Regions from separate parts of the Homo sapiens genome. Here regions 2, 3 and 4 are each linked to region 1. Evidence: promoter capture Hi-C in human tissues and cell types (Jung and others, 2019). All regions are on one chromosome and are shown on one strand. Each heading gives the region's core, a stretch centred on a gene start or on the middle of the fragment in contact. The rest is flanking DNA. Distances are from core to core; before and after follow the strand shown.

Region 1 (2,940 bases), core at 360-2,859:
AGGAACACAGCCGGGCCCTGTTTACGGCCCATCTGACCCTGCACTGGGAGCAGGTCCCAGGCTGCCCAGTCCACACAGGGCTGACCGCACTGAAGAGAGTTGCTCAAAACCTCTCCTCTCCAGCCTCAATGGTTTTCATTGATTCCTGTCTAGAAAATCTTCCCCAAGTTTCACCACCTTTCTGTGCGACCGATCAAAACGCAGTCTGTCTGGGAGCCTCAGGCAGGCGGCTCTAGATCCCCAAAGCTAGCGCTGGGCGAGCTCCCACCTGGAGCGAGGCAAGGGCTCCGAAAGGGCTTTTACAATCAAAAGGCCCCACCTGCCGTGTCCATGGCGGACTCCCAATGCAAACCGTCCCACTTGTCCGTGGGTTAATTCCATCCGACTGCTTCCCAGATCAATCACACGTGGGGAGCCCCCGGGCGGAGGGCGCGGACCCTGGGTCCCGGCTAGGCCAGGGTCGGGGAAGGGTAGGGGTGCCAGGCCGTGCAGCACCAAGCCACCCGGGTGTGCTTCGCGAAAGGGGCACCACTGCCCGGCAAGCAGGGAACACAGATGCCAGGACTGGGGACCCCTGCCCCGCCCTGACACCAGGCCACAGCCTCCGGGGGTGTCCCCTCCCCCAGACCAGGGCAGAGGCCGGCCCCCGCCCCTGCGAAACTGAGCCCAGTAGGGCAAGGGAGGACCAGGGAGGAACCCACACTATTTTTTTCCAAAGTGTGGGACCGCCTCAGTCCGGCAGAGGGGGGTGCAGCGGTGAGCGGGGCTGGGCCCTGGGCACGGACGTTCGTTGGGCTCGGGAAGCTCCAAATTAAACAGCTCCAGGCAGGAAGCCCGCCTTCTCCCAGATTGTCAGGAAGTCCTGATGCAACTTTGCGCTTTTTTTTTTAAACCCGAAAGAGAAAAAGAGATTCGTGCTCCCCCCACCACCGCCGCGGCCCTTCCCACCGGGGCAAACACCGCCTCGCCCGGCGGCCTCCTCTCCGCAGCGCCCCGGCGGAGACGCCAGCCGCGCTATGCCCGGCGCTCGCTCGACCGCCCCCGTGGGCACGCGGTGCCGTCTCCCCCAGCCGCCGCCGCCCTTCCAGCCCGGCCCTGGGACAGGAGCCCCGCCGCCGCCTGGCGCGCTCATGCTTCAGGAATGCGGGCGCCCGGGTCGCGCGTCCCTGGGAATTTCCGCGCCCGCTCGCCCGCAGCCCTCGCCCCGGCCGGCGTCGTCCGGTGTCCAGGCCGTGGGGAGCCGAGACGCAGCCCCCTCCCGTCGCCCCCAGGCGCCCGCCCCCCACTCACCAGCCAGCAGCGCGCAGGGCAGCAGCAGCCAGTACAGGACCGCGCCGAGCACGTGCGGCTCCATGGCTGGAGGGCCCAGGGCCCGGCCCAGACCGAGCGGACGCCGCGGCGCTATGGGGCGGTGCGGGGGCCCCGGGGCCGGCGCGCCATGGCTGACCCGCGGGGACCCGCGCGCCGCCTTCTCCTCTTCCTCCTTCTCCTTCGGCCGCCCCGCCGGTGCCGACGTCCCGGGCCCGCGCTCGCTCAGGCGACCGCCCTGCCCCTCGGCGGAGCGCAGCGCTCGGCTCACTGGGGCCGAGCTGGGCCGGACGGCGGCTCCCGCCCTCCTCCGCCCGCGGGCCTTTATAAGCTCGGCCCCCTCCCGCCCTCCCCGGCGTGCCCGCCTCCGCGCTTCCCCGACGGCCCGGCGCGCCCAGGCACCCCCTCCGCTGTCCCGCGCGGCCCGTCCCGCCTCCGGCCCGCCCTGGTGCGTTGGGGCCTGGAGACCCCCGACTGGCGCTGGCCCGGAGCGGACCCCTCCCCTCCCGCAGTCTTGGCCCCGCGGCTCCGAGCGTGCGCGGCGGTGGGCAGGGGCGCTTCTCGCTGGGTGGGCTGCGGCTGGGGCCCGGGCGCTACATAAGGGGTCCCGGGGCCTCTGGCTCCCCCAGGCAGCGCCCCACGCGCAACTGCACCCCGCGTGCCCGAGCGACTTTCGCTTTGCTCCCCGAGGCGCGAGCACGCAGCGCCCCCTGGGGACCGTGGGGAGGCTCGGAGTTCCCGCGGCGGCCGGGCCTAGTGGTCCCGGAGGGAGCACGCGGGATGCTCGGGTCGCAGCAGTGCCGCGATCCGCGTTGGTCTGACGGGGGCTCGGGGGCTGCTCCCAGCCACGCCGGCCACCGCGCGCGGCTTTGCCCGGGTCGCTCTGGCGTGAGACGGTGAGAGTGAGAGCCACGGCCTGTGCACCTGCTGCCGCGGCGCCCTGCCACGGAGAGGTAGGGTCTGAGTCCAGGGTGTTCGGGACCCTCACCCAGGCCACGTCAGTTTGGCCTTCGTCTGCCCTTGAGATGGGCACAGAAAGAGGGCAAAGGGCTCTACACCGTTTAATTGGGCTCAGTTCATGGCTCTCAAACTCAGCTGCGTAAGGCAGGGAGTGGGGCTGGGGGGACTGTGGCCACTGAGCCTCAAGGCACTGGCAACTCATGAGAGCCCAGCACAAGCCCACACCCTCCAGCTCAAAAAAAAAAAAAAAAAAAAAAGATGGCGGGGCAGTGGCTCAGGCCTGTAATCCCAGCACTTTGCGGGGCTGAGGCAAGGGGGTAGGGGGTCGGGGGATCACTTGACGTCAGGAGTTCGAGACCAGCCTGGCCAACATGGTGAAACCCCGTCTCTACTAAAAATACAAAAATTAGGCCGGGCGCGGTGGCTCACGCCTGTAATCCCAGCACTTTGGGAGGCCGAGGCGGGTGGATCACCAGGTCAGGAGATCGAGACCATCCTGGCTAACACGGTGAAAACCCATCTCTACTAAAAACATAAAAAATTAGCCGGGCGTGGTGGCGGGCTCCTGTAGTCCCAACTACTCGGGAGGCTGAGGCAGGAGAATGGCATCAACCCAGGAGGCGGAGCTTGCAGTGAGCCGAGATAGCGCCACTGCACTCCAGCCTGGGCGAC
Region 2 (2,700 bases), core at 5-2,504, 260 kb before region 1:
GGCTCTGGGGCTCCCTGCATGGTTTCAGAGGACTGCTCAGACCCTGTGGTGCCTCCAGGGGTCCCAGCCCCATCCCCAGGTGAGAAAGCCTCAGGCCATCGTGGGTCAGGGACCCCCCGCTAAGGTATCCTGAGCACCAACACCATGTTCCCTCCCCCGTGCTGTTCCCCCAACCCGTGCTGTTCCCTCCCTCATGCTGTTCCCTCTCCCCTGTGCTGTTCCCCCAACCCATGCTGTTCCTTCCCTCATGCTGTTCCCCCAACCCGTGCTATTCCCTCCCCCGTGCTGTTCCCTCCCCTGTGCTGTTCCCCCAACCCGTGCTGTTCCCTCCCTCATGCTGTTCCCTCTCCCCTGTGCTGTTCCCCCTCCCCTGTGCTGTTCCCACACCCTGTGCTGTTCCCTCCCCTGTGCTGTTCCCACACCCTGTGCTGTTCCCTCCCCTGTGCTGTTCCCTCCCCTGTGCTGTTCCCTCCCCTATGCTGTTCCCTCTCCATGCTGTTCCCTCCTCTCTGTTTCCTCCCCCGTGCTGTTCCTTGGCCCCCTCGTATCCACACCCTCCCCTCCTCACCCTCCAGGTCTCGGCCAACATCCTGGCACAGCCACCCCCACTCCCCGTCTCAGCCTGTCCCGTGTCTCTGTCGCTGCCCCTCCAGGTGCCTACCTGCTATTTCTGGGCGGCTCCACACTCCAGGACTCACGGGAGATGCAGTTCTGTTCACTGTGTTCCCCACACCTGGCAACAGCTGGTGCACAAGGCCTGCCTGCCGGATAAGGGAGTGAGTGAGTGTGTGACCCAGTGGATGAAGTGGCAGCAGCAAGGCGGCAGGGGTCTCACGGACCTGGCTTGTAGTCGTGCAGGCCTCAGGCCCTCACCTGGGAAGTGTACTCCTTGCATGGTCGAGGGAGACAGAGGCACTGAGGGACCAGCTGGTGCCTCTGTTAAGGTGATGGGGAGGTGGAGGACTTCTCAGGGTGGGCTGGAGGAAAGACGGGCTGGGGCCTCAGCAGCCTCAGCCTCAGCCTCAGCTCCCACCCTCCCGTGAACCTGCTGCTGGCCCACTACCCCGCAGTGTCCTGGGGATGACCAAGCAGCCCCACGGGGCTTCTGCAGGACCGGCCGTTTGGCTCCATGGGCCGGGCCACCCCAGCAGCCCTGCAAGCTGCTTCAGAGCTTCACAGCGAGGTTTGGGAACGGCCTCAGATAAAGTTGTCACAGCGGATGCTGCACAGATAGGGTTTCCGATGGCTATCGGTGCCACCGCAGAATCAAGACACTGACCTCTTTGTTGGGGGAAACAAGGAACATTCTCAGGTCCGCCCGGGGAATTTAAAGTGGCCACTGCTGGTGGGGCCGGCCAGGGCCCAGAGGAGGGACAGGGCAACCCCAAGGGGCGGCAAACAGGGTGGGCTCTAGCGTCCTCCGTGGACCCTGGACACACCTGCCTGACCAGGCTGGGTGCCGAGCCTGTGGCACCCTGGGAGGGAAGATGGCCGCAGCACCCACATCTCTGAGAGTCTTGGCAGAAGGGCCTGGTTTGGAAGTTAAAAATAGGCCCCCTCCCAAGGCCAGGCGCGGTGGTTCACGCCTGTAATCCCAGCACTTTGGGAGGCCAAGGCGGGCAGATCACCTGAGGTCAGCAGTTCAAGACCAGTCTGCCCAACATAGTGAAACCCCGTCCCTACTTAAACTACAAAAATTAGCTGGGTGTGGTGGTGCTTGCCTGTAATCCCAGCTACTCGGGAGGCTGAGGCAGGAGAATTGCTTGAACCCCGGAGGTGGAGGTTGCAGTGAGCCGAGATCATGCCATCGCACTCCAGGCTGGGGGACAAGAGTGAGACTTCATCTCAAAAAAAAAAAAAAAATAGGCCCCCTTCCCCCTTGCTCCCCAGTGCCCACAGGCAGAGCAGGGTCAGGAAGGGCCTGCAGCACCAGAGAAAGGGCTTCTGTTCCAGGCTGATCAGAGGTGGGGAAACAAGAAGAGACAGAAAAAAATCAACAGGCAGACCCGTGCCCGGCCAGCCCCTCCGCAAGGGAAGCAGAAGCTGAAATTGGCTTCCTGCCCCAGCGTCTCCTGGCCGCGGCCCCAGCAGTGGCTCCCAGGATGGGCGGGTGGCCCCGGGCTGGCTTCAGGGGTCCGGCCACTTGGCACCGGGCAAGACCCTGGTTCAGGGCTGGCCGTGTCCATGCCACCTCCAGGCTGGGGACCCTGGTGGCCCCAGGCGAGGCTGTGCTCACCTGTCCCCTGAGAGGTGTCAGGGTGGCCCCTGCATCCTCAGCAGCCAGGGCAGACTGGCAGGGAGGCCCTCACCCCTTCCCAGCCTGTGGTCGCAGAAGTAGGAGCGGCAGGCCCCTCTGAGAGTGTTTGGCAGTGGGGGCCGTGGCAGGGTGGCCGGAGCTGCTTATCTTGCACCCCTAGGTCTCCTACCTGTTCCCTCCCGGGTCGGGGGCGGGTGCCGGATGGGAGCCTCACCCTCCTTCCCCCTGCCCCTCCCCACCCGCACAGCCAGGCCAGGCGCCCCGTCGCGCCCCACATACGCGGGGTGCACTCGGCGGGGCCGGGCGGGAACATGGCGCCTGCCCTCCACTCGGGACCGCCACAGAAAAATCGGGGGTGCGTGCAGCGTCAGCACAGTTGCGGCGCGTGTTTTTATCATGCTGGGAACACGCTGCTCCTGGGAGTGATAAGCATTAAACCGGCC
Region 3 (2,715 bases), core at 63-2,562, 340 kb before region 1:
TCTCTCCATAAGTATCTTGAAGATCCATGGTTTGTTTTGCTCTATTGTTTAGTTTTTACTTGGGTGCAATGTGTACGTCAAAAGTTTTTATTTTGATATTTGAAAGAGACCAAATCAGGCCCAGACCGCCTCTCTGGAAGGTGTTGTAGGCCATTCAAAACGCCTCCGGAGTGTCGCAAACCAAGTGCGGAGGGGCCCTGAGGTTGTACTGTAAACATCATAGTGACTTGTCTTTTCAAATATATTCCCACTATTTTCGCAGAAAACCTCCAGCTGCGTGACGTCTGTCCTCCCGCCGGCCCCCATCCCTGGTCTGCACCTCCCTGAGCCTCAGAACTTGGCTCCCAGGGTGTCTGCGCCAGCTGCCACTCTCGGGCCACCGTGGGCCAAGGGCCCAGCCGGGGCTGCGGGACCTCGTGCAGGACCCAGTGATGCAGCCATGGCTGTGTCCTAAGAACACCCCTTCAGCAGTGGGTGTTCCAGGTTTTCCAGAAAGGGGCAAGCCCACCCCGGCCATCCTCACTGAGGACCTCCCCCGCCCCCAGGAGGAACACACCACCCCTTCAGCAGTGGGGGCTGGCCCAGGTTTTCCAGAAAGGGGCAGGCCCACCCCGGCCATCCTCACTGAGGCCCCCCCTCACCCCCCAGGAGGAACAGACGGGAGGCTGAGGTGCCCTGGCGCCCCTCCCCCACATCAGAAGCAGCCCGGGGGACCCAGGGAGCGATGGGGCTGGGCTGAGGGAGGATAGGCGTGGGGACTGGGCTCTGCCACCCTCGGGCCTCCCCCCAGGCACCCGTCTGGTGTGAGTTTTCCAGCCTTCACATGCCAGGACGCAGCCCTCCCAGGCTGGGGAGCCAGGCCCCCTCACCTACCCAGAGACGCAGCCTTGTCCGCCTTGTCCCCTCCTCTCTCCCACACTCGGGTCCCTGAAGGTGTCCACACGTCCCTGCCTCAAAGCCTGCTCCCTCATGGCCCTTCCAAGCTTCTCCTGAGACTGTCTTCTGGAATGTTCTGTGGAAGTGCCTGCCACTGACCATCAAGGCATCCTCTCATCTTCTTGGCCAATGGACTTGGTCAGCTTTCACCCCTCCCCCAGGTGGGCGCTGGGCCTCCCCTGCTTTCCACTTGTTGCTGGCGGAACTCACACCGTAAGGGCGTCTGCGAAGGGGCCCAGCGTGGGGAGGGCAGCGCCTGTCCTCAAAGCCCTGCTCTCGGGGTGGATGTCGGACACCGTCATGCCAGCTGCAGGGGCTGGGGGCATGGGGAGCTCTAGACCCCAGCAGAACCTGGGCGGGATCTTACAAATGATTCCCAGCGGGGCAGCCACACCTTCCTGCTTGTTAACACACGGAGATCATGAGGCCGTCAGCAGCACTGCCTCAGTCTCCCGCTCTGTTTCCAAAACTTCCTGGCTCCGGGATGGGGTCCTCAGGGAGCAGAGTGGCTCCATTGAGGGAGCCGCAGGGAAGGGGCCAGGGCCGCAGGAAGAGTGGAACCAGGAGACCCTCCCCACCCAGCCTCCTGTGCCCTACAGCGCCCCTCAAAGATCCCAGTGTCCAGGAGACAAGTGACCCTCTCCAGTGAGGGTGGGTCAGAGTAGACCCCTGACTGGGCAGATGAGGAGGCTGCTCAGAGGAGGCCTCCAGCCCTCCCTGCCTCACCAGCCTTGCTTTCCTCCCCTCTTCCACGGGAAGCGGAGCTCCTAAATGAGACACCTTAACCGGGGTCTCACCACTTCCGTCCAAGCACACGGTGCCCCTCTTCCCTGGATAGAGGACAGATTCACCTGCGGCCTGCGGCTGTGGCCCACCCACCCCCACCGCCTCCCCACCCGCCAGGCGCCTGCCTGCAGGGTTCCCTTTGCCAGGAACACTGTTCCCAGGCCCGCACACGGCCCCTTCCCTCCTTTTGGGCCCCTCCCCTCACGCCCGCCGTCCTCTGCCTGGGTGGCTCTCTGCTCGGACACTGGTTTTGGGGTCTTCCCAGCCCTGATGGTGGCAGAGGCCACAAGGCAGCCTGGGCCAGGCCTGCCTGCAGGAGGGGCTGGTGAGTGGGGGTGTGGCCATCTGCCCACCCCCTTTGCTCACATTACCCCCCCACTGTGCAAGGAGCCTGGCTCAGGGAAGCCAGCAGACGCAGCCCCCAGGCGGGGCCTTCTGAACAGGTGCTGGTCTGGCACAGGGACTATACCTGGCGGGTGGCTTCATATCCAGGGAGGAGGCTCCGCAGGAGGCCCGTAGACGGGGGTTGGGGGGAAGGGCATGGAAAGGACCTTGCACCCCGCACAGGGCTCTGAGTTGGTGTTGGGGCAGCGGTGGGTCACGGGGCTGCCTGTCTGGGCTCGGTGTGTGAAAGGGTCCCATGGACTTCATGGGTGGAGACCCTTGAGGTCCCACCAGGTCTGCAGTCTGGGACACCCGCAGTGTGTCTGTTCAGCACAGTGTGTCTCAGGCAGGGCCCCGGCCGGCAGCATCCAGGGCACCCCACTCGGGTCAGCGGCTCTGGGACGGGCTGGGCACTCGCTCCCACCAGCCTCGGGGGCTGACGTTGGAGGGCCGCTGCTCTGAGCCATCTGAGGCCATGCTCAGGGACTGCCAGGAGTGAGCCCTGCCCCTGTCCACTCACCGCTCCTCCTGTGGGGCCTGAAACCACCGTTTGGCTGGAGACCCAGGATGTGGACGGCCCCCGCCTGGCCACCAGGTGGCAGCATTCGC
Region 4 (3,010 bases), core at 208-2,707, 320 kb before region 1:
TTGAGAAACCCTGTGTGCTCCCCGGCTTGGCTCCCACCCTGTCCCCAGCCATCCCTGGCCCTGCTGCTGCACCTGACAGCTGCGCCCAGATGGGACTCAGGTGCCATCGCGGCGTCTGTCTGGATAAAGCCGCCTCCTTCAGCTGATCCGAGATCCGGCGCTGATGGAGCGATTAGCGGCGATTAGAGCCCGGCGTGCGGCTAATCCTCCTGCTGAGGGACAGGTGAAGCAGCCATAGGGGTGGAGGAGGGACAGGTGAAGCAGCCATGGGGTGGAGGGTGCCAAGGGGCCCGCCGTGCACGGGGGAAACCAAGGCCACGCAGCTACGATGTCTCCTTGAGGCAGTGGCCCGGCCGCTCCCTCGCTGGCAGAAAGGCTTCCTGTGGAGCCGCCTGGGCTCCCAGTGGGTGCAGGCCAGCTTGCCATTTCCCCCTTCCTGGATTTTATATTTTGAGTGACTCTTGAGAAATGAGATCCTCTGGGAACCCAAAGGCAGGATCCCTGGGGCGGTGTGGATGGTGACATTTCTGGGTGGTTCTGGGACCCCCAGTTGTAGTGATCCTGATGGCGGCCGTGGTTAGACAACAGCTCCGTTACCCAGCCCCGGCAGTTCTGGCATGGAGTACTCTGCAGCCCTGGGAGGGGCGCCTATGACCTCATTCTCCTCAGAGAACTGAAGGCTCAGCGAGGTTGAGTAACTCACCCAAGATCACACAGCATGAAGAGAACAGAAGGGACCCTGGCTTCTGGCTTAGAGTCTAGCCGAGGTCAGAGTCTCCATCCTGGCTGGAGGTTCTGGGGTGTTTGCAGTGGGGGGCAGCCCACGAGCCTCCCAGGGGGCTCACCCGTACCTTTCAGGGAGAAAGGCCAAGCACAGAAAGGGCAGGGGACGGCTGAGGGCCGCACAGCCCATCCTGGCAGTGGGAGGGGATGGGCGGAGGCTGGCCTGCCTCTATTCTTGTTTCTTGGGTTCATTTCATCTGTCCCCAGAAAATAAGCTCCTTTGGTGAGAAAGTTGGTTTCTTTCTAACTTTTGGGTTTGGTTTTGTTTCAATATTCTAAAAGGAAGTCAGCTATTTCCAGTGCAGTGGGGTGTGTATGTGGGGGAGGGGGGTAAATGTCAGCTCCAGTGACCAGCGTTTAAATCCTGCCCCCTGGCCGGCAGCCTCTCAGTTTCCTCACTTGTATCATGGGCATGATCACAGTTCCAGCCTCCTTGGCCTTTGAGGAATTAGGGCAGAAGTGGGTAAAGCATCTGGGGCCCTTGTGCGGCAGGGCTCAGTGAACCCCAAAACGGCGGTGGTATTAATGGGGGGACACGAGCCGGGGCGAGGGTCCCTGGGGTGGGGCCACCTCTCCAAAGCCCTCTCTGCCCGCAGCCCACCCTCCCTGAATCCTACTGGCATTCTTCCTGCACGGTTTTCCGCCAACGGCTACAGTGTGCCGATGACCTCAGTGATGTCACCTAGGGCCTCGTCCCATCACACAGCGGCCAGAGTGGCTCCAGAACATTTGTCCCTGTGATCCAAGAGTCTACCCCTTGTCAGTCCCCCATAGTTGCCACAGTCACCCAGACCAGGAGCCGCAGCAAACAAGCAGGGGGTACAGCATCTGTCCCCATGGCCCTGGTTCTCACACACATCCCAGAGTCTCAGGTCTCAGTTTCCTCATCTGTCAAATAGGGCCGACACCGCTAAGCCTGCCCTGCAGGCCATGGCCAACCCCCCTGAGGTCTCCCCACCCCTCCCAGCGGTGCCCACCCAGGGCTTCTCGAGGAAGGAGCTCAGCACCCGCCCCAGTGACACTTCACTTCTCTGGGCTTTGCTGCCTTTTCCTATAAAATGGGGTGCCAGTCGCCCTCTCAGAGTCCTTTCAAGGAGCTGATGGTGTAGACCGCGAGACCTGCCTTGCAGGGCACATGCGCAGCTGCTCCTGTCATGCTGGGACCTCCGGACCCCGGGCCTCGCAGCTGCCTTGGATCCCCTCCCTCCTCCAGTCACGGGCTCTGGGCTGGCTGCTGGGCGTGTTGGGCACAGCGGGCCCTAAGCTGACCCGTGCCCTTTGTGGCTGGGACCTGAGATGGGGAGGCCCCCACCCCCTAGTTCCATGGCTTTGGGAGGTGGGGGTGGGGTGTTTTCTACTCTACCACCCTACAACGAAAAAGAAGAAAAGAGAACTTGATAAAAAAGGGCGATGCGTGCTGTGCGGTGGAGGAGGTGCTATCGCCGTTATCTATCTGCTTGCTCGAGCTGAGCGGCCCCCCTTCCCCTTATCTCACCCCACCCTAATGCCAGGAACAAAAGTGAGAACACACTCTCAACCCGCACACCCGCGAGCCCCCCACCGCCCCTCACACACCCGCGAGCCCACCGCCCCTCACGCCCCCGCGAGCCCACCGCCCCGACCCACCCGCGAGCCCACCGGCCGCTGACGCACCTGCGAGCCCACCGCCCCTCACGCACCCGCGAGCCCACTGCCCCTGACCCACCCGCGAGCCCACAGGCCCTGACGCACCCGCGAGCCCACCGCCCCTCAAGCACCCGCGAGCCCACCGCCCCTCAAGCACCCGCGAGCCCACCGTCCCGACGCACCCGCGAGCCCACTGCCTGCGGCGCACAGAGCCACCAGATCTAGAGGGAGAGCTGAGCACTCGGGGTGCTCTGAAAGTCATCATCATCATCATTTTGCAAAGAAAGCCCCCAAATAGCCCTCCCTGAAACAAGGCAGCCAAAAATAAGAAGTCGCTCTCAACAGGCCCCCACAGGAGAAAAGAGGCCGGCCTTGGAGAGGGGTTGGGACTTGGGGCCAGGTCCCAGCTGTGCCGGCCTCTTGGCTGTACGACCTTGGACCAGTATCTTTCCCACTCAGAGTCATCCCTGAATGGATGTCAGGGAGCCTTCGAGGAAAGGGGAGAGCCTGCACTGTAACTGAAGCCCCCCACCAGCCCCATGCAGCTTTCTGACCCTAGACTTGGGGCTGGGACCAGTCACCCAGAATCTGATACCCCCAG

The links. The method cuts DNA at HindIII sites, captures the fragments that hold promoters and counts their contacts. A contact is called where the count stands out against the background at its distance.
Region 2: a fragment that was not itself captured here is called in contact with the fragment with the promoter of PIEZO1 in region 1 in 1 of the 25 tissues and cell types used here (lymphoblastoid cells).
Region 3: a fragment that was not itself captured here is called in contact with the fragment with the promoter of PIEZO1 in region 1 in 1 of the 25 tissues and cell types used here (lymphoblastoid cells).
Region 4: a contact is called between a fragment that was not itself captured here and the fragment with the promoter of PIEZO1 in region 1, in 1 of the 25 tissues and cell types used here (spleen).

What each region holds. Positions count from the first base shown.
Region 1 is chr16:88,783,611-88,786,550 of GRCh38, forward strand. PIEZO1 (piezo type mechanosensitive ion channel component 1 (Er blood group)) reads right to left here and starts at 1,610. Exons shown (of 51, transcript NM_001142864.4): 1 at 1,291-1,610. The coding sequence starts at 1,354. RefSeq lists silencers at 439-758, 1,259-1,738, 1,779-2,108 and an enhancer at 841-1,754. The HindIII fragment of the contact is 3,328 bases long and covers 1-1,803 here.
Region 2 is chr16:88,521,360-88,524,059 of GRCh38, forward strand. All of the region lies in intron 4 of ZFPM1 (zinc finger protein, FOG family member 1), which reads left to right. It overlaps ZFPM1-AS1 (ZFPM1 antisense RNA 1), which reads right to left. Exons shown (of 4, transcript NR_148997.1): 3 at 662-761. Among named protein-coding and RNA genes, the nearest start is that of ZFPM1-AS1, 8.3 kb to the right of the region's middle. The HindIII fragment of the contact is 5,029 bases long and covers 1-2,700 here.
Region 3 is chr16:88,440,488-88,443,202 of GRCh38, forward strand. ZNF469 (zinc finger protein 469) reads left to right here. Exons shown (of 3, transcript NM_001367624.2): 3 at 1-266. Among named protein-coding and RNA genes, the nearest start is that of ZFPM1, 11 kb to the right of the region's middle. RefSeq lists an enhancer at 2,636-2,715. The HindIII fragment of the contact is 6,107 bases long and covers 1-2,715 here.
Region 4 is chr16:88,465,668-88,468,677 of GRCh38, forward strand. The region is part of intron 1 of ZFPM1 (zinc finger protein, FOG family member 1); the gene reads left to right. Among named protein-coding and RNA genes, the nearest start is that of MIR5189, 1.7 kb to the right of the region's middle. The HindIII fragment of the contact is 7,946 bases long and covers 1-3,010 here.